Linked DNA regions of Homo sapiens: regions 1 and 3 are each linked to region 2. The links are contacts of gene promoters, found by promoter capture Hi-C in blood cells and fetal thymus (Javierre and others, 2016). All regions are on one chromosome and are shown on one strand. The core of a region is centred on a gene start or on the middle of the fragment in contact, and the rest is flanking DNA. Distances in the headings are between cores, read along the strand shown. Region 1 has its middle 120 kb from the start of SLC24A2. Region 2 holds the start of IFNW1 (interferon omega 1). Region 3 has its middle 150 kb from the start of SLC24A2.

Region 1 (3,471 bases), core at 94-2,593, 1.2 Mb after region 2:
TATTCTGGAGTTACTTAATGGTAACAGTTGTACGACATTGTGAATATACTAAAAACTATTAGATTGCACACTTTAAAATGGCTAAAATGGTGACTTTTATATCAATCTTTTTTTTAAATTATTAAAATACATGTTTTAAAATAAAATACAAATCAAATGTGTGCAGAACTCCTGAAGCACCTCAGCTCAGATCTTTTATGTGGCCAGATTCTGGCTACAAAATCTGGATCCCATCCTGTCCACATGACACTGGGGAGGATACTTGCTGTCTTGAGCCCATTTTCTCATCTATGAAATGGGATGCCTTCTTGCCTCATCTGAGTCATTATATGGTTCAAACGAGATAACTTTGTTAACAACAAGGCAAGGTCATAAGGGATTATTATCGTAATCTCTTGTCACTCTCGGCTAGATTATGCCAGAGGGGTGAACAGAATGCCTTAAGAGAACATGTCCTCTGCCTGGCTCAGAATAGATGATATTTGAGCTGGTCTTAAAAGATGACTTTGCCAGGCCAAGACCTGAGGATAGCCTTTTTAGACAGAAGGAAATGTATATTATTAAAAATGAGCAAACTCAGAAAATGCTACATGTTTAGTGACTGGAAATCACTGGAATACAAGTTGTGGGAGAGAGCAATTGAGAGGAATTTGGACCAGATCAAGTAGGGTCTTTTGTATAAGGTGTATGGGTTTTATTTTCGTGATAATGGAAAGCCAGTGGACATGTTTAGGAGGCATGTGTCAAGATCCAGTATGGATCCTAGGAAGAGGTCTGATGACATCATGGAGGATGAGCTGTGTAGGGAGATATTCAACAGGTAGATCTGACAGGAGGTGGTTGAAACACTCAAGTGGCAGGTGTCAAGAATCTAACCCTGGACAAGATAAAAGTAAGGACAAAAAGTAAGATCTGAAAGGAAGCGCATTTTGAGGTAGAACCCAAAGTATTTGGTAACGGACTAGATATGTAGTGAAGCAGAGGAGGAACAAAGGGCAACTGTGAGGTTTCTGGTTTTGAAAACTGGGCATACTACCCAGTTAATCAAGATTGGGCATACCACCGCTGATCAAGATTGTAGGTTTTTTGGAGAAGGAGCTGGCATAGTGAGGAAGATGAGGTTGGTTTGGGATACAGTAAGAATTAAGTGCTTACCCAGGAAAACAAAAATTAAAAAAAGAAAAAAAAGAATTAAGTATGGATTGATGGAATGCAAGAAACACACTCAAGTAAATGCAAGGAAACAAGAATTTACTGTGAGAAGGCATTCAAATGTAGATTTGTGGAGTCATAGACCATGGTTTCCTTATTCAACAAAATTTCTCTTATACCTAGCAAAGTTCCTGGCATAAAGTAGGTTTTCAAATTGTATTTGATAAAGGATGGTTAATCTCATGAAATACAATGAAAGCAATAAAGCATAGGCTTGCTGGCACTGGAAAATTCTCAGGCAGCCACCTACTCCATCTCTATCTTTCTGAAATCACGATGTCCTTTGCTTTGCTTCCCTTTGCATGTCTGCCCTAATCTCTGGATTCTCCCTGTATACTGGCTTTCTCTGCTTATTTATCCTCAGGACACAATTCCAAGCCCTAAATCACCTTACAGATGGAGGTGATTGATTCCCACACAAGGGAATCTGACTGGACTAGCTTGGATGAGATATCCACTCTGGCCAAGTCAGCTATGGCCTGAGGGATGAAGTCAGAGTGATTTATGTGACTACTCTTTATGGGATGTGGGCACGTCTCTAAGAAGGGAATGTTGGCAAACAAAAAAATGACTGGTATCTCTGGTATAAGCCTGCAGCCAAACATTCAGGTGTAGATGAGAATATGGGGCCTATATTTTGGAAAAACTGGTCATAGATCTTGGAGTCATTAGCAAATAGATAGTGGTTGAATTCTTCAATTTAGATGAGACGACCTGGGAAGAGTATGTAAAATGATGTGAGAATGTAGAAGTGATAGAAACTGGGCTAAGAAAAATAGAGAAATAGCCAATGAATTAGAGAGGTAATTGTCAGAGAGATATAAAGAAAACCAGGAGACCTGAGTCATAGGCTTTGAAGAAGGAGAGAATATTAATAAATGGAGATCAGGTTCATTTAAATTTTTACAAATGATTTGTTGATAGTTTCACAAGCCTGTAAGTTGAGGGAAAAGTTGGATATAATGTTTCTGTATGTCAACCAGGCATTTGACATCTTTCATAACATCATTTTGGGACAAAATAGAGAAATAAGGGTTGGATTGAGTTCAAAAGGAAAAATTATCAATTAGGCAAATGAAGAATCCCAAAGGGATGCAGGTTGATGGGATAGTATCCACCACTGGAGGTTCTAATGTGAGCTGGGAGGTTCCAGTGTTGTTTTGTCTTTGTGAACATTTTATAAACGATGTGAAAACTAAGATGATTTATTTATCCAATTTGTGAATAGGACAAATCTGGGAGGAATAGCAAGAAATGTGTGACCAAGTGAGGGTCCCACGTGCATTCAGTAGAAAAAAGATAGAATTGTTTATGGTTAGATAGATGGAGGAAGGCCATCTGTTGTACTGTAGAGAGCAGAGAACCCATGTTCTAATCCTGACTGTGAGCCAATAACTTGACAAATTACTGAAACCGATGATTTCCAACCTATACCTGATTTAAATCCCTGCCAATGGGATAGGAACAGGGAATTCATACACTATTTGTAACCATTTTTCCAGGACATTCAAATGCTACCCATCACTATCCATGGGATAACATCTGAAGGCACTGACTTAAAATTTTAATAGGCTCAGTATCTGCATCTCTAAAATGATAGCTCACCAGGATGATCCCTAAGGTCTCCTTTCCAGCTCTGACATTTGTATCTGTGTTTGTGTAGGGGAAGCATGTGTCTCAGCAGAAGAGTTTGCCTAACATCTAACTGCTGGCCTCGGTCCCCACCCCGGGGGTTTGAATACCTCCACGACACTCCATTGTCAAGAATTCTCATTATCTGGTCATAGTGAAGCTATGCAGTGGCTTTAAAAGAAAGCTTAAAATATAAATATACATTTATATAAAATGATTGGGTGAGTAAACAAATAAAACCTTAGGTCTCAGACACTAAAAGGCTCAATGGCATGTAATGCTGATGGTCTGTTTCTCAAATGTATCCACATATGTTTGTTTAACCCCCAAGTTCACCCTTAAATGTCTGATTTTAGTGTAAATGGAAAGAGAACCCAGTGTGCTGAGATAAGATCTAGACAAGTGATAGCGATGGTGCATCATAGATGTGTCTCCCATAACCACAGGTCAAGTGGAGTTCCTACCATAGGACAGGCTGAGTGGAAAGCTAAGATAGAGCCATTAATGTCTCATTGCTAGGAAGAGAAGCTGGATATTCAATGACACTTTAGGATAAAACCACAGTTGAGACTGGACGCCATATCAGTAGCTCAGGGAATCTCACTCAATCATGGAAGAAGATCAAGG
Region 2 (3,527 bases), core at 433-2,932:
CCAGCCATCCCATTACTGGGTATATACCCAAAGGATTACAAATCATGCTGCTATAAAGACACATGCACACGTATGTTTATTGCGGGACTATTCACAATAGCAAAGACTTGGAACCAACCCAAATGTCCAACAACGATAGACTGGATCTAGAAAATTTGGCACATATAAGCTTCTAATGAAAGACAACATCATCATTGATCCCCTGTGCCCACCTGAGAAACACTGAGGATAACAAATGTTCAATAGCTTACGTAAAAGAATTGAACAATAAAAACCGTGTCAGGATTCCGAGCTGGGATACTGACACAGCCAGTGGAGCACTATTGACCTCAGTAAGCAAATGGTGGAAAATTATTTGACTAATGAAGGTAAAATGATTATAATTGGGTAATCCTTCCACCTTCCTTAGACAAAAGAAACCTTTGCTATCAGTACCTGAGGGCTGTCGAAACTTTTGATACCTGGACACATGGGTCAGGAGGAAAGGAGGTCGCCACTGAGAGCCAGGGTCCTCCAGACAAACACTCTAGGGGCACCGGCAAGGGTCTTGGAGGGTTAGTTGCTTTGCTCACAAAGTAACCACTACCCTCTCACCAAAAGAGTTCTGAAGTTATCAGGATGTTGTGAGACTGCTCCCTGGGAGCGAGTCTGGAAGAGTTTGGGTTGAGAGTATTTGTTACTCTAGAGGAAAAGGTATTACTAGATGTGATAACTACCTTGTGTGTGAGGAGACGCTGGGAAAGTAAAATATCTGCGAATTAGAATCTCTACATCCATATGCGCTTGTAAAGAATCAGGATTCCAGCTGGGATATTGACAGATAGGGGAGCACTATTGACCTCAGTAAGCAAATGATGGAAAGAAAAAGCAGTGTCTATATTAATCTTCACCTTGTGGTCCCAGTGAAGCGTAACCACATGGACCTGCATGAATGTTTTCTAGAAGGAAGAAAAATGTCAGAGAAGCTCATTCGCTAATCATCATCATCCTCTGTTGTGAATAAAACAGCAAACAAAACTGCGTTTTTGGCTCATATCTGTAATTCCAACTACTTGGGAGGCTGAGGCAGGAGGCCTCAGCTTCAGGCCAGGAGTTTGAGACCAGCCTGAACAACATAGTGGGACCTCATCTCTAACAACAACAACAACAAAAAAATTAGCCAGGCATGATGGTGCACACCTGTTGTCCCAGGTACTCAGGGGGCTGAGGCACAGAGATTGCTTGAGCCCAGGAGTTAAAGGCTGCAGTGACCTCTGATCATGCCACCACACTCCAACCTGGGTGACGGATTAAGACCCCATCTCTAAAAAACAAACAAACAACAGCAAAATGCTGTTCTTGGTTCTAAAGAGCTTATTTGCTGCAGATGATCTGGTAAACCTGAAGCAAATATAGAAACCTATAGGGCCTGACTTCCTACATAAAGTAAGGAGGGTAAAAATGGAGGCTAGAATAAGGGTTAAAATTTTGCTTCTAGAACAGAGAAAATGATTTTTTTCATATATATATGAATATATATTATATATACACATATATACATATATTCACTATAGTGTGTATACATAAATATATAATATATATATTGTTAGTGTAGTGTGTGTCTGATTATTTACATGCATATAGTATATACACTTATGACTTTAGTACCCAGACGTTTTTCATTTGATTAAGCATTCATTTGTATTGACACAGCTGAAGTTTACTGGAGTTTAGCTGAAGTCTAATGCAAAATTAATAGATTGTTGTCATCCTCTTAAGGTCATAGGGAGAACACACAAATGAAAACAGTAAAAGAAACTGAAAGTACAGAGAAATGTTCAGAAAATGAAAACCATGTGTTTCCTATTAAAAGCCATGCATACAAGCAATGTCTTCAGAAAACCTAGGGTCCAAGGTTAAGCCATATCCCAGCTCAGTAAAGCCAGGAGCATCCTCATTTCCCAATGGCCCTCCTGTTCCCTCTACTGGCAGCCCTAGTGATGACCAGCTATAGCCCTGTTGGATCTCTGGGCTGTGATCTGCCTCAGAACCATGGCCTACTTAGCAGGAACACCTTGGTGCTTCTGCACCAAATGAGGAGAATCTCCCCTTTCTTGTGTCTCAAGGACAGAAGAGACTTCAGGTTCCCCCAGGAGATGGTAAAAGGGAGCCAGTTGCAGAAGGCCCATGTCATGTCTGTCCTCCATGAGATGCTGCAGCAGATCTTCAGCCTCTTCCACACAGAGCGCTCCTCTGCTGCCTGGAACATGACCCTCCTAGACCAACTCCACACTGGACTTCATCAGCAACTGCAACACCTGGAGACCTGCTTGCTGCAGGTAGTGGGAGAAGGAGAATCTGCTGGGGCAATTAGCAGCCCTGCACTGACCTTGAGGAGGTACTTCCAGGGAATCCGTGTCTACCTGAAAGAGAAGAAATACAGCGACTGTGCCTGGGAAGTTGTCAGAATGGAAATCATGAAATCCTTGTTCTTATCAACAAACATGCAAGAAAGACTGAGAAGTAAAGATAGAGACCTGGGCTCATCTTGAAATGATTCTCATTGATTAATTTGCCATATAACACTTGCACATGTGACTCTGGTCAATTCAAAAGACTCTTATTTCGGCTTTAATCACAGAATTGACTGAATTAGTTCTGCAAATACTTTGTCGGTATATTAAGCCAGTATATGTTAAAAAGACTTAGGTTCAGGGGCATCAGTCCCTAAGATGTTATTTATTTTTACTCATTTATTTATTCTTACATTTTATCATATTTATACTATTTATATTCTTATATAACAAATGTTTGCCTTTACATTGTATTAAGATAACAAAACATGTTCAGCTTTCCATTTGGTTAAATATTGTATTTTGTTATTTATTAAATTATTTTCAAACAAAACTTCTTGAAGTTATTTATTCGAAAACCAAAATCCAAACACTAGTTTTCTGAACCAAATCAAGGAATGGACGGTAATATACACTTACCTATTCATTCATTCCATTTACATAATATGTATAAAGTGAGTATCAAAGTGGCATATTTTGGAATTGATGTCAAGCAATGCAGGTGTACTCATTGCATGACTGTATCAAAATATCTCATGTAACCAATAAATATATACACTTACTATGTACCCACAAAAATTAAAAAGTTATTTTAAAAAAGAAATACAGGTGAATAAACACAGTTTCTTTCCGTGTTGAAGAGCTTTCATTCTTACAGGAAAAGAAACAGTAAAGATGTACCAATTTCGCTTATATGAAACACTACAAAGATAAGTAAAAGAAAATGATGTTCTCATACTAGAAGCTTTAGGTGCAAATGATGTTGAGAAAGAAAAATATTAGATGTCCTTTTTGAGGTGCCTGGGAGACATGAAATTGCAGAAATCTTATGCGCAATTGGGAATATGGGTCTAGAGTGAACAACAAATCCCATGGGCAAAGGTATTAATTTAAGATTCTTTATTGCATGTCTGGTAACAAGGACATAGGAATGAATGTAGTCACTTATAAACAGAGGAGACAATGAGATGAGGA
Region 3 (3,616 bases), core at 419-2,918, 1.2 Mb after region 2:
GCTTATATGGAACAGTTGGCAAAAGCCTCTTCTGTTCCCCTGTTTGGATTATTAGTTCCACAATCCCATATTCAAGAGCTACCAGATGCCTCTTAACTACTATGTTCAGACAGGAGCTGGGAGTGTCCCAGAGAAAAACCCTAAAGGAAAACAATGCAAGCGGTGCCACTTACAGCTTTGCAGCCTTTGATGAGTTTTTTACTCTGCACTTTCACTTCCCCATGGGTGCGATGGGAATGGGAGCATCCCCTCAAACCCCCAAGGGTGTCGTGAGAAGTGAGATAGCTGGTACAGAGAAGTGTTCAATCAGTTGAAGTGCTATTGTTAAAGCCTGGGGTGGAGAAAAACTTGGAAGCATGTGCTACTGCAAAACACACTGTGTGAGTTGGAGCATTTTATCTGAGTGTGCCAGGGATTTCTGGAGAAGGGATTTGGCAGAAGTCATGATTTTAGCATAGCCGTAATTCACTAGGGGCTGGCAGTTTATTTCTACCTACAGCATTATAGTCACGTGCTGCATGATGACATTTTGGTCAACAACAGACCACTTGTAGGACAGTGGGCCCCTAAGATTATAACGAAGCTGAAAAATTCCCATCCCCTAGTGATAGTATAGCTGTGGAAATGTCATAGTGCAATTACTTTATTTTTTACAAATTTAGTGTAGCCTAAGTTGACAGTATTTATAAAGTCTACCGTTGTTTACAGTAATGTCCTAGGCCTTCACATTCACTCACTACTCACTCACTGACTCACCCAGAGCACCTTCCAGTCCTGCAAGCTCCAGGCGTGGTAAGCGCCCTGTACAGCTGTGCCATTTTTTAATCTTCTCTGCCATATTTCTACTGTACCTTTTCTATGTTTAAATATGTTTAGAATCCAAATACTCATCATTGTGTTACAATTGCCTACAGTATTCCTACAGTAACATGCTGTACAGATTCATAGCCTAGGAGCAATAGGCTATATACCATATAGCCTAGGCGTGTAAGTAGCTATACCATCTAGGTTTGTATAAGTATACTCCATGATGTTCACACAATGATGAAATCACCTAAGGACACATTTCTCAAAACCTAACTGCTTTGTTCTCAGGTTTAGAGGGCCAAACACTTAGGTGGCACTATACTCATTCCAGAACACCAGGATATGCTTATATCCTCCATTCTGTTATGTACACTAGAATCCAGAAACAAGACTACTAGAAGAAGACAGATATCACCTACATATTTATCTGTGTGATCTGCCATAATAGTTACGGACATGAAAATAAAGTTAGTGGGACTAAACAACAGATACCTTATGAGTTTTTCCATTCTCCATTACCATTTGTTTATTGCCTATTTGTAAGATATTTTTAGTTTTGGGTTTTGTTGATTTCTTTGTTTTTTGTTTGTTTGTTTGTTTTGTTTTGTACATAGTCTCAAAAAGACAAGCTGTAGCGGATGCCAAAGTTTTAAGTAAAATGTGCGGAGCAAAATGTTAAAATGAGAAAATTCTATCTAGCAACTTTTTTTCTGGAAACTTGGAAAATATATACATTATTAAATTGTAGCAATAAAACATCTCAGTCATCTCAGTTTACAAAACACCAAGGATCCATGGAGCAATTAAAGAATCACTAGAGGGTTAACAACAGAGGAAGTCATATTTCCTAGTCATTGAAGTGTTAAAATAGGAAAAGAGACCTGGAGACTTATAGGTCTAGGTGAGTGTTAGTGTCTTACCTAACTAATAACATTAGAAATGTGAAGCAGAAGGAGACTATTCCAGAGTCCATAGTCAACTTTTTAATTTAAACATTTTAATAAACCATACCTCTATTAATCACCATGAAATTTCTCTTTCAAACTGAAAGGAAGTGTCACAGTATTGGGAAGACAAATGGTAGTTAAAACTATTGTCCATGTAAGTTAAATGGGGCTGTAAAAAATGTCTATCCAGTTTAGAATATCTTTCAGTTTTCTCAGACTTTTCTTTTGGGAAATAGTATATTAAAGAACCTATCAATTCAACCTTTAATATTGAGTTTCTATATCATGTTTTTTGAAATGAATGTCCAACAGTGGGCAACTGGCTAGATAACCTAAATATACACCAAAATGATGGGTTATACAGACTTTTAAAAAGATTTTCTGCAAGAATATCTAATGGTATGGGAAGACAGACACTGGTATTAAAGGAAATCACAGTCTATAAGAGTACTATAAAATATTATTTCATTTTTAATCTATACAGTATAGAAAAGACTCACTAATAGTTAATGCTATTAATAAATGCAATATTGTTATTTCTATTCTGTACTGTTTTTATACTGTTCTGTTTTCTTCTTTTCATGTATTTTCATTTTTAATAAACATATTGCTTTTGTAATAAGCAAACCACAATTGTTAGTGTAAAAGTTATATTTGACTTTCTGTGCAATATTATCTAATTGCTGAAGTACCAGAAATACAACATTTCACCTATAAGGCTGTCCCCAACCATATACATCCTGAAGACAGCATTAGAACACAGCTTTGCTATCCAGAGAGAAGCACAGGAAATGTGTATATGTAAATATAGTTGTGTTCATAATAGCACTTCGTTTGCATAGACACAAATATCATAAACAAAATATCTGTCTCTCAATTATTAGGATACATAGATATATTTCAACAGACAACATTGATTAGCTGTAATCCGGGTGTTCATTAGAAAGTATAGTTTTAAACTCATTTTCAGCTGATAATTTTCAATAGCTCAGTTGAGAGAAATTCTATTTGAAATTTTTAAAGTTAAAAGTAACAATTCTGCTAGTACAAAACTGCATGTATCTTTCAAGATATTCCAAAATCTATCCCTATATCAAGCAAGGAGCTGAGTTCTCATGGAATTATTTATCTAAGTTGCACTTGAGTGTGACACCAGCAATCTGGGTTGAGAATTCTAAGGGAAAAAACAAAACGTGAAAACCATTATTCTGTACATTTCAAAGACATTGTTGAGGATGTTAATCATCTCTCCATGCCTTCTTTAGGAAGACCCCTGGAAGAAATTTCATTCTGATATTTTAATAGCAAGGAGCAGCCAAAATTCTCCCAGTTGGTCTGTTTTCATCTTGTGGATATTATACATGGACTGACCAGGGGTCCCTCTATAATTGCTCTGGCACAGCTCAGAGCCAAATGTGTGGCCCAGCTGCAGCAAATGTGTGAATCAATGCGGTATGTGTTTTTAGGCCTAATTCTTGACTCAATTTTATGTTCCTACCATATTTTCCTTTCTCCTGACTTTTTGGTTTTTGCTTAAAAAAAATCCACTAAAGTAATACATATGTGTGGGAACATACGAGTGAGGACAGAAGAATTTAAGGTCTGAAAAGCAGCAGCCTCTACCTCTCTGCTCTCTGCCTCCACCCCATCCCACTCCCCAGATTCAACCTCTTTTAACTGTTTGTTTTTGGTTCTTTTAGCAATTACCTCCATAAATCTAGATAAGAGGCTTAACCTCTTTTTCCCCATTTATCATCTTGAGATAATATCTCTAGACACCTTAATATGAAAAGGGGAGGATTTAGCTCATTTAATGTAAGTTTCCTCCTCCACCTCCAAATGTTTTATATTTGCATTATTAC

Evidence for each region. Contacts are between HindIII fragments. The CHiCAGO score rates a contact against its expected background, and 5 or more counts as called.
Region 1: a fragment that was not itself captured here is called in contact with the fragment with the promoter of IFNW1 in region 2 in 6 of 17 cell types (activated CD4 T cells, total CD4 T cells, naive CD4 T cells and 3 more); the score reaches 10.6 in activated CD4 T cells.
Region 3: a fragment that was not itself captured here is called in contact with the fragment with the promoter of IFNW1 in region 2 in 1 of 17 cell types (naive CD4 T cells); the score reaches 5.3 in naive CD4 T cells.

What each region holds. Positions count from the first base shown.
Region 1 is chr9:19,911,589-19,915,059 of GRCh38, reverse strand. It overlaps a transcript of SLC24A2 not described here. Among named protein-coding and RNA genes, the nearest start is that of SLC24A2, 120 kb to the right of the region's middle. The HindIII fragment of the contact is 3,374 bases long and covers 1-3,030 here.
Region 2 is chr9:21,139,987-21,143,513 of GRCh38, reverse strand. It overlaps IFNW1 (interferon omega 1), which reads left to right and starts at 1,682. Exons shown (of 1, transcript NM_002177.3): 1 at 1,682-2,882. The coding sequence starts at 1,944. The coding sequence ends at 2,531. RefSeq lists enhancers at 1,728-1,777, 1,868-2,007. The HindIII fragment of the contact is 3,128 bases long and covers 172-3,299 here.
Region 3 is chr9:19,936,690-19,940,305 of GRCh38, reverse strand. It overlaps a transcript of SLC24A2 not described here. Among named protein-coding and RNA genes, the nearest start is that of SLC24A2, 150 kb to the right of the region's middle. The HindIII fragment of the contact is 5,442 bases long and covers 1-3,616 here.